Linked DNA regions of Homo sapiens: regions 2 and 3 are each linked to region 1. The links are contacts of gene promoters, found by promoter capture Hi-C in blood cells and fetal thymus (Javierre and others, 2016). All regions are on one chromosome and are shown on one strand. The core of a region is centred on a gene start or on the middle of the fragment in contact, and the rest is flanking DNA. Distances in the headings are between cores, read along the strand shown.

Evidence for each region. The method cuts DNA at HindIII sites, captures the fragments that hold promoters and counts their contacts. A CHiCAGO score of 5 or more calls a contact.
Region 2: a contact is called between a fragment that was not itself captured here and the fragment with the promoter of SNRNP200 in region 1, in 1 of 17 cell types (total CD8 T cells). The highest score is 7.1, in total CD8 T cells.
Region 3: a fragment that was not itself captured here is called in contact with the fragment with the promoter of SNRNP200 in region 1 in 1 of 17 cell types (total CD4 T cells); the score reaches 5.9 in total CD4 T cells.

The regions. Positions count from the first base shown.
Region 1 is chr2:96,303,827-96,307,066 of GRCh38, forward strand. SNRNP200 (small nuclear ribonucleoprotein U5 subunit 200) reads right to left here and starts at 1,720. Exons shown (of 45, transcript NM_014014.5): 1 at 1,567-1,720; 2 at 879-1,042. The coding sequence starts at 1,611. RefSeq lists enhancers at 1,585-1,879, 2,129-2,208, 2,801-3,240. The HindIII fragment of the contact is 15,934 bases long and covers 1,067-3,240 here.
Region 2 is chr2:96,596,830-96,600,069 of GRCh38, forward strand. The region is part of intron 20 of KANSL3 (KAT8 regulatory NSL complex subunit 3); the gene reads right to left. Among named protein-coding and RNA genes, the nearest start is that of KANSL3, 40 kb to the right of the region's middle. The HindIII fragment of the contact is 1,892 bases long and covers 667-2,558 here.
Region 3 is chr2:96,569,755-96,572,994 of GRCh38, forward strand. No RefSeq gene overlaps it. Among named protein-coding and RNA genes, the nearest start is that of ARID5A, 35 kb to the left of the region's middle. The HindIII fragment of the contact is 1,560 bases long and covers 711-2,270 here.

The DNA of each region.
Region 1 (3,240 bases), core at 470-2,969:
TTGCCGTGAGAGAGATCACGCCACTGCACTCCAGCCTGGGTGACAGAGTGAGATTCCGTCTCAAAAAAAAAAAAAAAAAAAGTACAACCCTTCATACATTGTATGAGACTATTATATAATAGGATTTTGACTAGTTTTTCACCTCTCCAATGCATTTTCCCTTTCTAGCTAGAGAACCAAGCTCTAACAGAATCTACTGCCGTTGACTATCAACAAAGTATAACAAAACTGGAAAAGAAGATATAGCACAAAGTGGAGATAATGTATTAACTCATTTCAAACATAACTACTTTAATCAAACTAAGCCTAGGAATTTTGGAAACTTCATCATAGGAAAGGGAGCAAGACACCAAGATATTCAGGATCAAAAGATAATGATGAGGTAAAGGTAAGTTTTTGAAACATATCCCCAAGAAATCTTAAAAAAAAAAAATAAAGGAAAAAAATGCAAACTAAGAAAGAAACCTGTCTTTCATACTATGGATGCTTAAATTAGTTTGTTACAACAAAATAGGTAGAACGTGGACAAGAGTAAATGGAAAAAGTAGGGGTAGGAAGTTAGTAATGGGAAAAAAGGAAAACGAATTACTGGGACATAGGAATAGCAAGGGTCTTGAAAATACCCTGAAGAAAATTAAGATCTGTCTATGGACCAGAAACACACATGTAAGAAAAAGGTACCAACAAGTTATTTTCCACTTGAGATGCACTTGTTAAGGCCAAAAAATCTTTAAACTCTCCTGGTCTGTTTTTACCTTCACTGAATTGTTTTAATGCCACTGATCTTACACCAAGCATTCCAGCAAAAATGCTGCTCGAATGTTAAAGGGAAGAGACTTTGGATCTGAAGGAAAAAATAGTATCCCCTTGGCACTCACTTGGCTCTTCTTTCCTCCTGCATCTGCGGTTTGGTCCGTTGAGCCTTGTCTCCCATACGGGTGCCCTCCAGCTTCCCAACAAGGGACAGCACCTCTCCTGTGGGTTCATCCCGGCGGGTCCGGTCAATGAGAGAACGGTCAGCTTGGAGCACAAGATTCGAGTTCTGAAAAGATCAAAACATTATTGAAGCTTTGACATGAGCAGGGCCAATTCCTACTATCATAGTTACCCCAGCTGATGGAAAAAATCGTAGTAACTAGTTGCTTATCATCACTAATCGTAATAAAAATATATTTTCCTTAAGAATTGCATAGTATAACGCTGTGCAGAAGCGTACAGCTGAATAAGTCTTATGCGCTGTCGAATCAGCTAAACAATTCTTGTTCCTAACAGCGCCCATCATAACCCACACCTGTGAAAAGTAGTGAGTGGGTTGGGAGTGACGTGTGGAAGGGGGAGGGCTTAGCGTTGAAGGTACTCGAGAAACTCCTCCTAGAGAGATCTTAGCGCTCCCCAGACCCCAGTAGGTTATTCACGTCATCGTATAACCCCCACCTTCACCCCGATTCCATTTCCCCTTCGTTTTCGTGGCTCTCCTGTAGGCCTTCAGACTGAAACTCCCTTTTTCAGCCTCCCCCTCCCCATTGGACTCCTGAGCCTGGAATCCTTCCCCAAGACCAAACGCACCGCCTTGTACTCGTATTGCAGACTACGGGCGGTTACATCCGCCATGGCCGCGGCTGCTCGGAGGCTTCAGACCACCACGCCTCCCTACCGCAAGCTGCAAACGGCCGCAGATCTCTGCTCCCGCCGCGCCGGAACGACGCAGGAAAGACGCACTGGGGAAGGAAAAGAAACGGGTTCCCTTCCGCTTCCGGGTCGCGCCCCAGAAGTGCGGGGCGGGGCGTGTCTGGGGCGTGTCCCTGCCGTGTGCGCGCGGCTTTCCGCACCCTTCTGAGCGGGATATGTGGGCCTGGTGCGTCTGGGTCCCCGAATCCCTAGACCCCCGCACTCTGGTTCTGGCCGCCCGCTGGCACTAAGGACCCAGGGCCCGTGCTCTCCCCGACCTCAGTCTCCAGCCCCCGGCACCCCTCACATCATAACGAATGCACGGCTGCTTAGCCCCTGTCCTGTCCCAAGACCTTTCCTTCCGGTTCCTTCCTCTTTGGCAACAGTCCCATGAGGTAGGCAGGAAAAGAGGGGCCGAAAACCCCATTTCCGTTTGAGGTAACTAAAGTACCCAGCGAGCAAGGTGACTTGCGCGTGTGTCTGTGTTTGTGTGTTTTAATGATTGGCGCCTTGCTTTGGGTTTCTCTTCTGTGTTCAACAATTGAAAAAGAAAGCTACTATCCCCCACCAATCCCACCTAAACCTGTGCCCCCAAGACCCTCGTTTTCACCCAGCTGAACGAACAGGGCCGGGGCCCCCATTTGCTCCCACTTGTCGGTAACATTCTATGGTAGGGCCCTCCCTGCCGCCCAGGGAAACCGGTGAAGGCAGGGCCAAATCCTTGGTGACTATGACTTAATTTCTTCCCCAGCTACAAAGTCTTCTCTGTCCCACATTCCCCACCACTTCTCGCCAGTAGAATGGCGCCTTATGGCTGAAGGTGACCTCCCTCCTCACTTAGAGCATGTTTGCTTTTGAGAAGATGAATGAACAGGAGGATGGGTGTTAAGCCAAAGGAATTCATCCTCAATAGCAGTCCCCTAGACCAGATTTGTTCTGTAGTGGTATCGTGTTTGGCTCACTGTTGGCTCCTTCTTTAAAAATTGGGATAATTTCATGCAAACTCTGGCTCTCCCCCATCAGTTGAGATACTAGAAAATCAGCCACATGACACCCACACTGCTGCATGGCATGACCTGCTGCTGGTCAGCAGCTGCCAAGGTCAGAGAATAGGCAAGTCCTTCCCACTGCTCCTGTTTTCTCATGCCTGCCCATCTCCTTATTTTTACTTGCCCAGCCCCTGTAGGCATGGAGTTTGCTGCTTTGGTGGGTGTTTGTTTTTTTTTTAATAACTCGTCTTCCCAAGGGACAGTCGAGTCCTCATGGCTCTGCTCCTCAGTGGCTGTGTGACTTTGAAGTAGCTAGCTACCTGGCCTCTCGGTGAGCACCATTTTCCTCATCCTTAAAATTGAGGCAATTGGCTGGACACGCTGGCTCACGCCTGTAATCCCAGCACTCTGGGAGGCCAAGGCAGGCGGATCACTTGAGGTCAGGAGTTTGAGACCAGCCTGGCCCACATGGTGAAACCCTGTCACTACTAAAAATACAAAAATTAGCCAGGCGTGGTAGTGGGTGCCTGTAATCCCAGCTACTCAGGAGGCTGAGGCAGGAGAATCACTTGAACCTGGGAGG
Region 2 (3,240 bases), core at 363-2,862, 290 kb after region 1:
TCCTGGTATGGCCAGCAGGACAGAGAGGAGAGAGAACTTATAACCACAGGCAGGGAGTCCATTTTTTGGACCCTGATGCAGGGCACAACATAGTCTCTGTCTGTCCTCTTCCTCCCTGCAGCTTCTCAGCTGTGATGAGTACACAATAGTCCATTCCCATGAAGGAAACACATAGTAAACACCAATCAGTGCCAGAAACAAAACAGATAATTAAGTGCTTATACAGATCTTAGAGAAGTCTAGTTGGTGTTCACTTTTCTTTTTAAATTCATTCCATCCAAAAATATTGCAGTATGGAACCCCAAAATAAAAAATGACTGTTTTAAAATCCTAACAATACCATTATCACACATTAAAAAGGTTAACAATTCCGTAATATCAACAACTATCCAGTCAGTGTTAAAATTTCCAATTGCCTCATAAATGTCAAAAAAATGGGTAGTTTGTTTCTAAGCATTAAAAAACGTCGGTTTCCAAAGCCTGAGGAGATTCTGATCCTGCCACCACAACAGTCACTGAATTAAGTCAACTTCCTCTCTAAACCAGGTAAGAAAACCAAAGCCCAGAAGGATAGGTGATTTGCCCAGGATCACACAGCTGGCTGAAAACAGATGACCTGACCCATAGTCCAGTGCTCTGTCTGGCAATCTGAACAGAGCTATTAGAAGCTTCTGAATCAGCAAGAAGCCTTAATCTAATAACATCCCCTTGCTTGTTGGAAAAGAATCACCACCTGACTCCTCCTAGCAATTACATATCCACTTTATTTTATTTATTTATTTTATTTTTTTGAGACAGAGTCTGGCTCTGTTGCCCAGGCTGGAGTGCAATGGTACAATCTCAGCTCACTGCAACCTCCGCCTCCCAGGTTCAAGCAATACTCCTGCCTCAGCCTCCCAAGTAGCTGGGATTACAGGTGCACGCCACCACATCCAGCTAATTTTTGTATTTTTAGTAGAGATGGGGTTTCACCATTTTGGTCAAGATGGTTTCGATCTCTTGACCTCGTGATCCACCCGCCTAGGTCTCTCAAAGTGCTGGGATTACAGGCGTGAACCACCATGCCCAGCCTACGTCCATTCTATTAAGATGAAAACTAATCTCATGTTAACATCATCAGTTAGAAGGCCAGACCTTGATCTTTATTCTGTGCTTCAACTGAGCTCCAGAAAAGGGGGATTCTCAATGACCTCTACTCTCTTCTCAATGGTAACTGGCTGGCCCAGGCCATGGCAAGCTGAGACGGATTACCTAACACAGGAGGAAGGGATCACGTGGCAGGATCTGTGTTCTAGTTGTCCATCAACATGGCATCAGCAAACGAAGACACCCTAAAAACAGGCCCAAATGGCTTTGTAGGTCACTTCTATCAACCCATCAAGGAACTATCATTTCTGTACTATAAAACTGTTTTAGAGTATGAGAGGGGAAAAGCACTTCCCATCTCATTCTACAAGGATTGAATTACCCCTTTTACATAACTAGACAAAGGAAAGCACACACACAGAAGTAGGGGGTGGAGGGGAAGAAAACTATGGGCCAAAGCCTGAGGAGATTAATATAGACGCCAAAATCCTAAGTAAAATAAAAGCAAATAGAATAGACATGCTTTTCTTTTGAAATGCTTAGCTTCTTTCTTTTTTCATTTCGTTCTTTTGATAGGGTCTTGTTGCCTTTGTATGTATAATAAAAAGAATAGGACACACTGAAAAAGCCACTGCATCTAGAATTCACACAGTTTGATATTAGGAAACCTATTAAAGTAACTCATCATTTTAACTGATTAGAAGGAAACGTTGGCCGGACATGATGGCTCACGCCTGTAATCCCAACACTTTGGGAGGCCAAGGTGGGTGGATCACTTGAGGTCAGGAGTTCAAGACAAGCCTGGACAACATGGTGAAACCCTGTCTCTACTAAAAATAGAAAAATTAGCTGAGGGTGGTGGCATGAGCCTATAGTCCCAGCTACTCAGGAGGCTGAGGCAAGAGAATAGCTTGAACTTGGCAGGCAGAGGTTGCAGTGAGCTGAGATCGTGCCACTGCACTCCAGCCTGGGTGACAAGAGTGAGACTGTCTCAAAAAAAAAAAAAAAAAAAAAAAAAAAGGAAATGTTTATCCTCATTCATTTCATGTGATTCTAAAAGAATAATGGAAAAAATTCAAAACTATCATGAGAAAGGAAAAGAATGAAGATTATCTTAGCAAACTAGAAACAGAATTGACACTCCCTTAACTTCAAGATCCATACTATCAACCCATAACAGAAGGCCAGCGTAGGATAGACAAATTCAAAACTACAGAACAGGCCCATATGTGTTCAGTACTTTAGAATGTGACAGCAGTGGATTTTAGATGAGTGGAGGAATGATGAATGGACTCATCCTTACCTCACTTAACATACAAAAGTGAACTATAAGGAATTAAAGGAAACAAGCAAAAGCATTATAAGAAAACACAAAGAGAGAGTTTCAATATGGGATGACAGAAAAGTTCTGGAGATGGATGGTGGTGATGGCTGTACCACAATGTGAATGTGCTCAATGCTACTGAACTGTAAGCTTGAAACATGGCTAAAATGGTACATTGTATGTTATATATGTTTTACCACAATTCAAATTTTAAAAACAAAAAGGATTACTTTTATATTCTTGTGATAGGGCTAGCTTTCTTAAGGCATAAAACTTTGGAGCTATAAAGGAAAATATTTGAAGATTTTACTATATGAAACATTTAAATGGCTGTATGATCTAGAAATAAAAGTTAAAAGACTGACTGACATTCAATGAATGCTTCAATAGAAAGAAAAAAAAATATGAGCCACTGACAGGAATAACATATATGTAATTTGTGTAACAGATAAAGATTTAACATCTGAATATACAAAGCCACTATAATTCAAAGAGTATGACAAACATTTCATAAAAGACATAAAACTTCTTAAGTAATCAGGAAAATGCACATTAAAACAATTTCATTTTTCACCCAGATTAATAAAGTTAAAATTTTGATTTCCACAAAATATGAAACATATTTTCATCACCGTGGCTAGAATTGTAAAGTAGCAAAAACTTTTTGAAGGGCAGTTAGTGAGCAGCTGCCCAGATATTAGAGGTACACATCCTCTACTTATTCTCTGGCCTGGAGAAATGCTCCCAGAGGTACACAAGAATAAACAAGTGTTCACCAGAGCATTATTTAAAATATCAAAAACCAAAATAGAACCCAGCTATCTACCTAA
Region 3 (3,240 bases), core at 241-2,740, 270 kb after region 1:
AAGAGGTTTAATTGACTCATAGTTTGGCAGACTGTACAGGACGCATGGCTAGGAGGCCTCAGGAAACTTACAATCATGGTGGAAGGCCAAGAGGAAGCAAGCATGTCTTACCATGGCGGCAGGAGAGAGAGAGAGTGATGGGGGAAGTGCCACACATTCTCAAACAAACACACCTTGTGAGAACTCACTCACTATCATGAGAACAGCAAGGGGGAAATCTGCCCTCATGATCCAATCATATCCCATCAGGCCCCTCTGCTGACATGTGGGAATTACAATTTGACATGAAATTTAGGTGGGGACACAGAGCCAAACCATATCAATTTGCAAATGGTGTATTTTTCTTACTGCCTGATCCTTCCAGAATTTGGAGTATTCTTAATTTCATTGCAATATAATTATTTGCACAGGTTCAATAAGAATCTGTCCTCCTTGTTTACGGGACAGAATTAGAAACATTGGTTATGCAACAAAGGCCTTTAAATCTTTTGTCATCTACAGATAGTTTTTTTCTTTTACTCTGGTGCCTCCCCGAATGTCATGTTTGAGAATGATGCTCATTTAATCAGCTATGACCAGATACTTTAAAGAACTAAGGTTGACTTTTTGGAGCCAATGTTTACAAAATGCTCTTGGGAAAACTGGCACTGGAGTACATGGTTTCAGCCTTACAGGTGAGTAAGAAAGGTCACTTCCTGACAGTACCAGGAAGCTTAGGATATTCTGGAGACTCAAGAAAAGAGGAATTTGTCCAAATTTATAGGTACTGCATTTAAAGTATGATGGCAAGTTCTTAGCTTGGCTTCCTAGCCTCAAGAGAATTTTAAAAGCTCAGTCTGAAAGTCCTGATGAAAACTTTCAACAAAGTAAACTTAAGAAGACCTGTGTGGCAAATTACCATTCTTACTCTACCTATGTGAGTAATCAGACAAGTCTAATGAGACCAGCCTTATTTTGTGATCAAGTGTTGATCAAGAATAATAGTTTTTTGTTTGTTTCTTTGTTTGTTTTTTTGAGACAGTCTCACTCTGTTGCCCAGGCTGGAGTGCAGTGGCATGATCTTGGCTCACTGCAACCTCTAGCTCCTGGGTTCAAACGATTCTCGTGCCTCAGCCTCCTGAGTAGCTGGGACTACAGGCACATGCCACCACGCCCAGCTAATTTTTTTTTTTTTTTGTATTGTATTTTTAGTAGACATGAGGTTTCACCATGTTGGCCAGGCTGGTCTCGAACTCCTGACCTAAAGTGATCCGCTTGCCTCAGCCTCCCAGAGTGCTGGGATTACAGAAGTGAGCCTCCGCGCCAAGAATAACAGTTCTTTGAGATTATTTTTTATCAAGATGGAAGTGACTGTAGAGAGGAATTTTGTGTTTCAATGGAAATCTATGCACACCCATCTGGGTTATCAGATTCTGGCTCTGGTCATTGCTGTTCATTTTTTTATAAATCACAGGTAACTGATGGATATGCAAACTGTTTTGTATGGTAAAGATTTAACTGACTTCCTTTCACCCTATGGAAAAAACAATTTTAGTACTTACCTGCAAATTGGACTGGATGCTGTCACCTTGCCTAAATTGTGGATTCTTATCAAATTTTCAATTCTTCCAGATGTCATCATTATCTGGCTATGGTTATCCAAACTAACATTTTTAATTTTCCTACCTCCTGCCTGACTCAGCATCACCAGGAACTGAATGAAGGCTCACCATCTAGATTCTACGTCAGGATTCCAGGTACCCTTGCACTGGCTCTTTGTCCAGGATCTGCAGAACCCCCTATAACCTACAGCCCAAAGACTTGATATAAACCTCAAAGGACTCATCACCATGGCAGACCATGCAGGGGCTGAATTCTCCCTGCACAGGCCACTGTCTGGACTACTAAGGAAGACCAGTAAAATGCTTGTATATGCATGTCTCTATATGAGCAAGAACCAAGACTGACCAACACCAAGAGCATCACCATCCTAGCTTGAGCTTCAAGAAACTCAAGAAGCACTGCTGCAAAACCAAAAGGTTTTCTTCCATTGACCACTTGGAATCCAGTAAACAGGTTACCCTCAGGCTCTGTACTTCAATTCAACCATTGATATGAATATTTCTCTTTTACATTTCAGTCATGCTTCTTTAAAGATGCCAGATTTCTAGCACTCTAAAACAACTGATCTTTGCCACCACCTTTCATCAGATGGCTCAACTGACTCTGCAAAACCACCACCAACAAGAGCCCTTGGGAGGCCATTTCTTATACCTGCTTTGCCCCTCTAAAGCTTTGCGATCACCTCTTAGTTGTTCAGTAATGAATGATATTCACGAAAAAAGAAGGGACTGACAACAGTAAACTCTGCCTGAGCCTCATATGCCTAAAAACAGCAACAGTTAAGAAATTTCCCTATCTTTTTGTGGCTCAGGAAATGGCTAACTGCAAAGTTCTGCCCTGCTCTGGCATATGCCAAGATAAGACCCATCTCCATCCTTCTGCATGACTTCCATAAGATTTACAGAAGATACAGATGGCTCCCTTGTCTAAGTGCCCCCATAAAACCCTAGGTCTCCCCGCTCTTCTTTGAGACTGTCTTCATTGCTCAATATTCTTCCTATTAATTAAGCATTCCTCCTTAATTATCCACTGCATTTTGTCTTTCATGCCAGCTTTCTACATCTTAGGTAGAAGAGGAACCCTAGTTTTGTTTTTAATATGGAGAAGATGTAAACATTTTTCTAGGCCAAGGTGAGAAACATCAGTAAAGAGGGGAAAAGAGGAAAAGTATAGGTGAGAGGAGAGAACGGAATTACTTATACACTCAACAAATGTTGAGTGTCATACCAGCTACTAAGATCAATACAAATGTAAATAATATATAATTTCTTCCCTTAAAGAGCCTACAGCCAAGGAAGGCAATGTGGCATGAACATAAACAACTATAATACAAAGCCATATGTGCTGAGTGTTAGGTTAACAATATCATTATCTTCCAAAATGAAAAAGAAGCTCTGTGGAATTACAGTTTGGGTGAGGGGGACAACAAAGAGAACTGGAAAGGGAAGCAGACAGAAGCTGACACAGAAGAAATTTCAGACGATGAGAACTTGGTAACAAAAGTATGCAAGCAGAAGGCCATGGGAGGCATTAAGGACAAAGTTAGTGGTGCAGTTTAGTAGGAATATAAGGTAAGCATAGGGGTTCAAGACCCAGTCATGGAAGGACAAGGGCTAGACCTGATAACATAAGCACTGG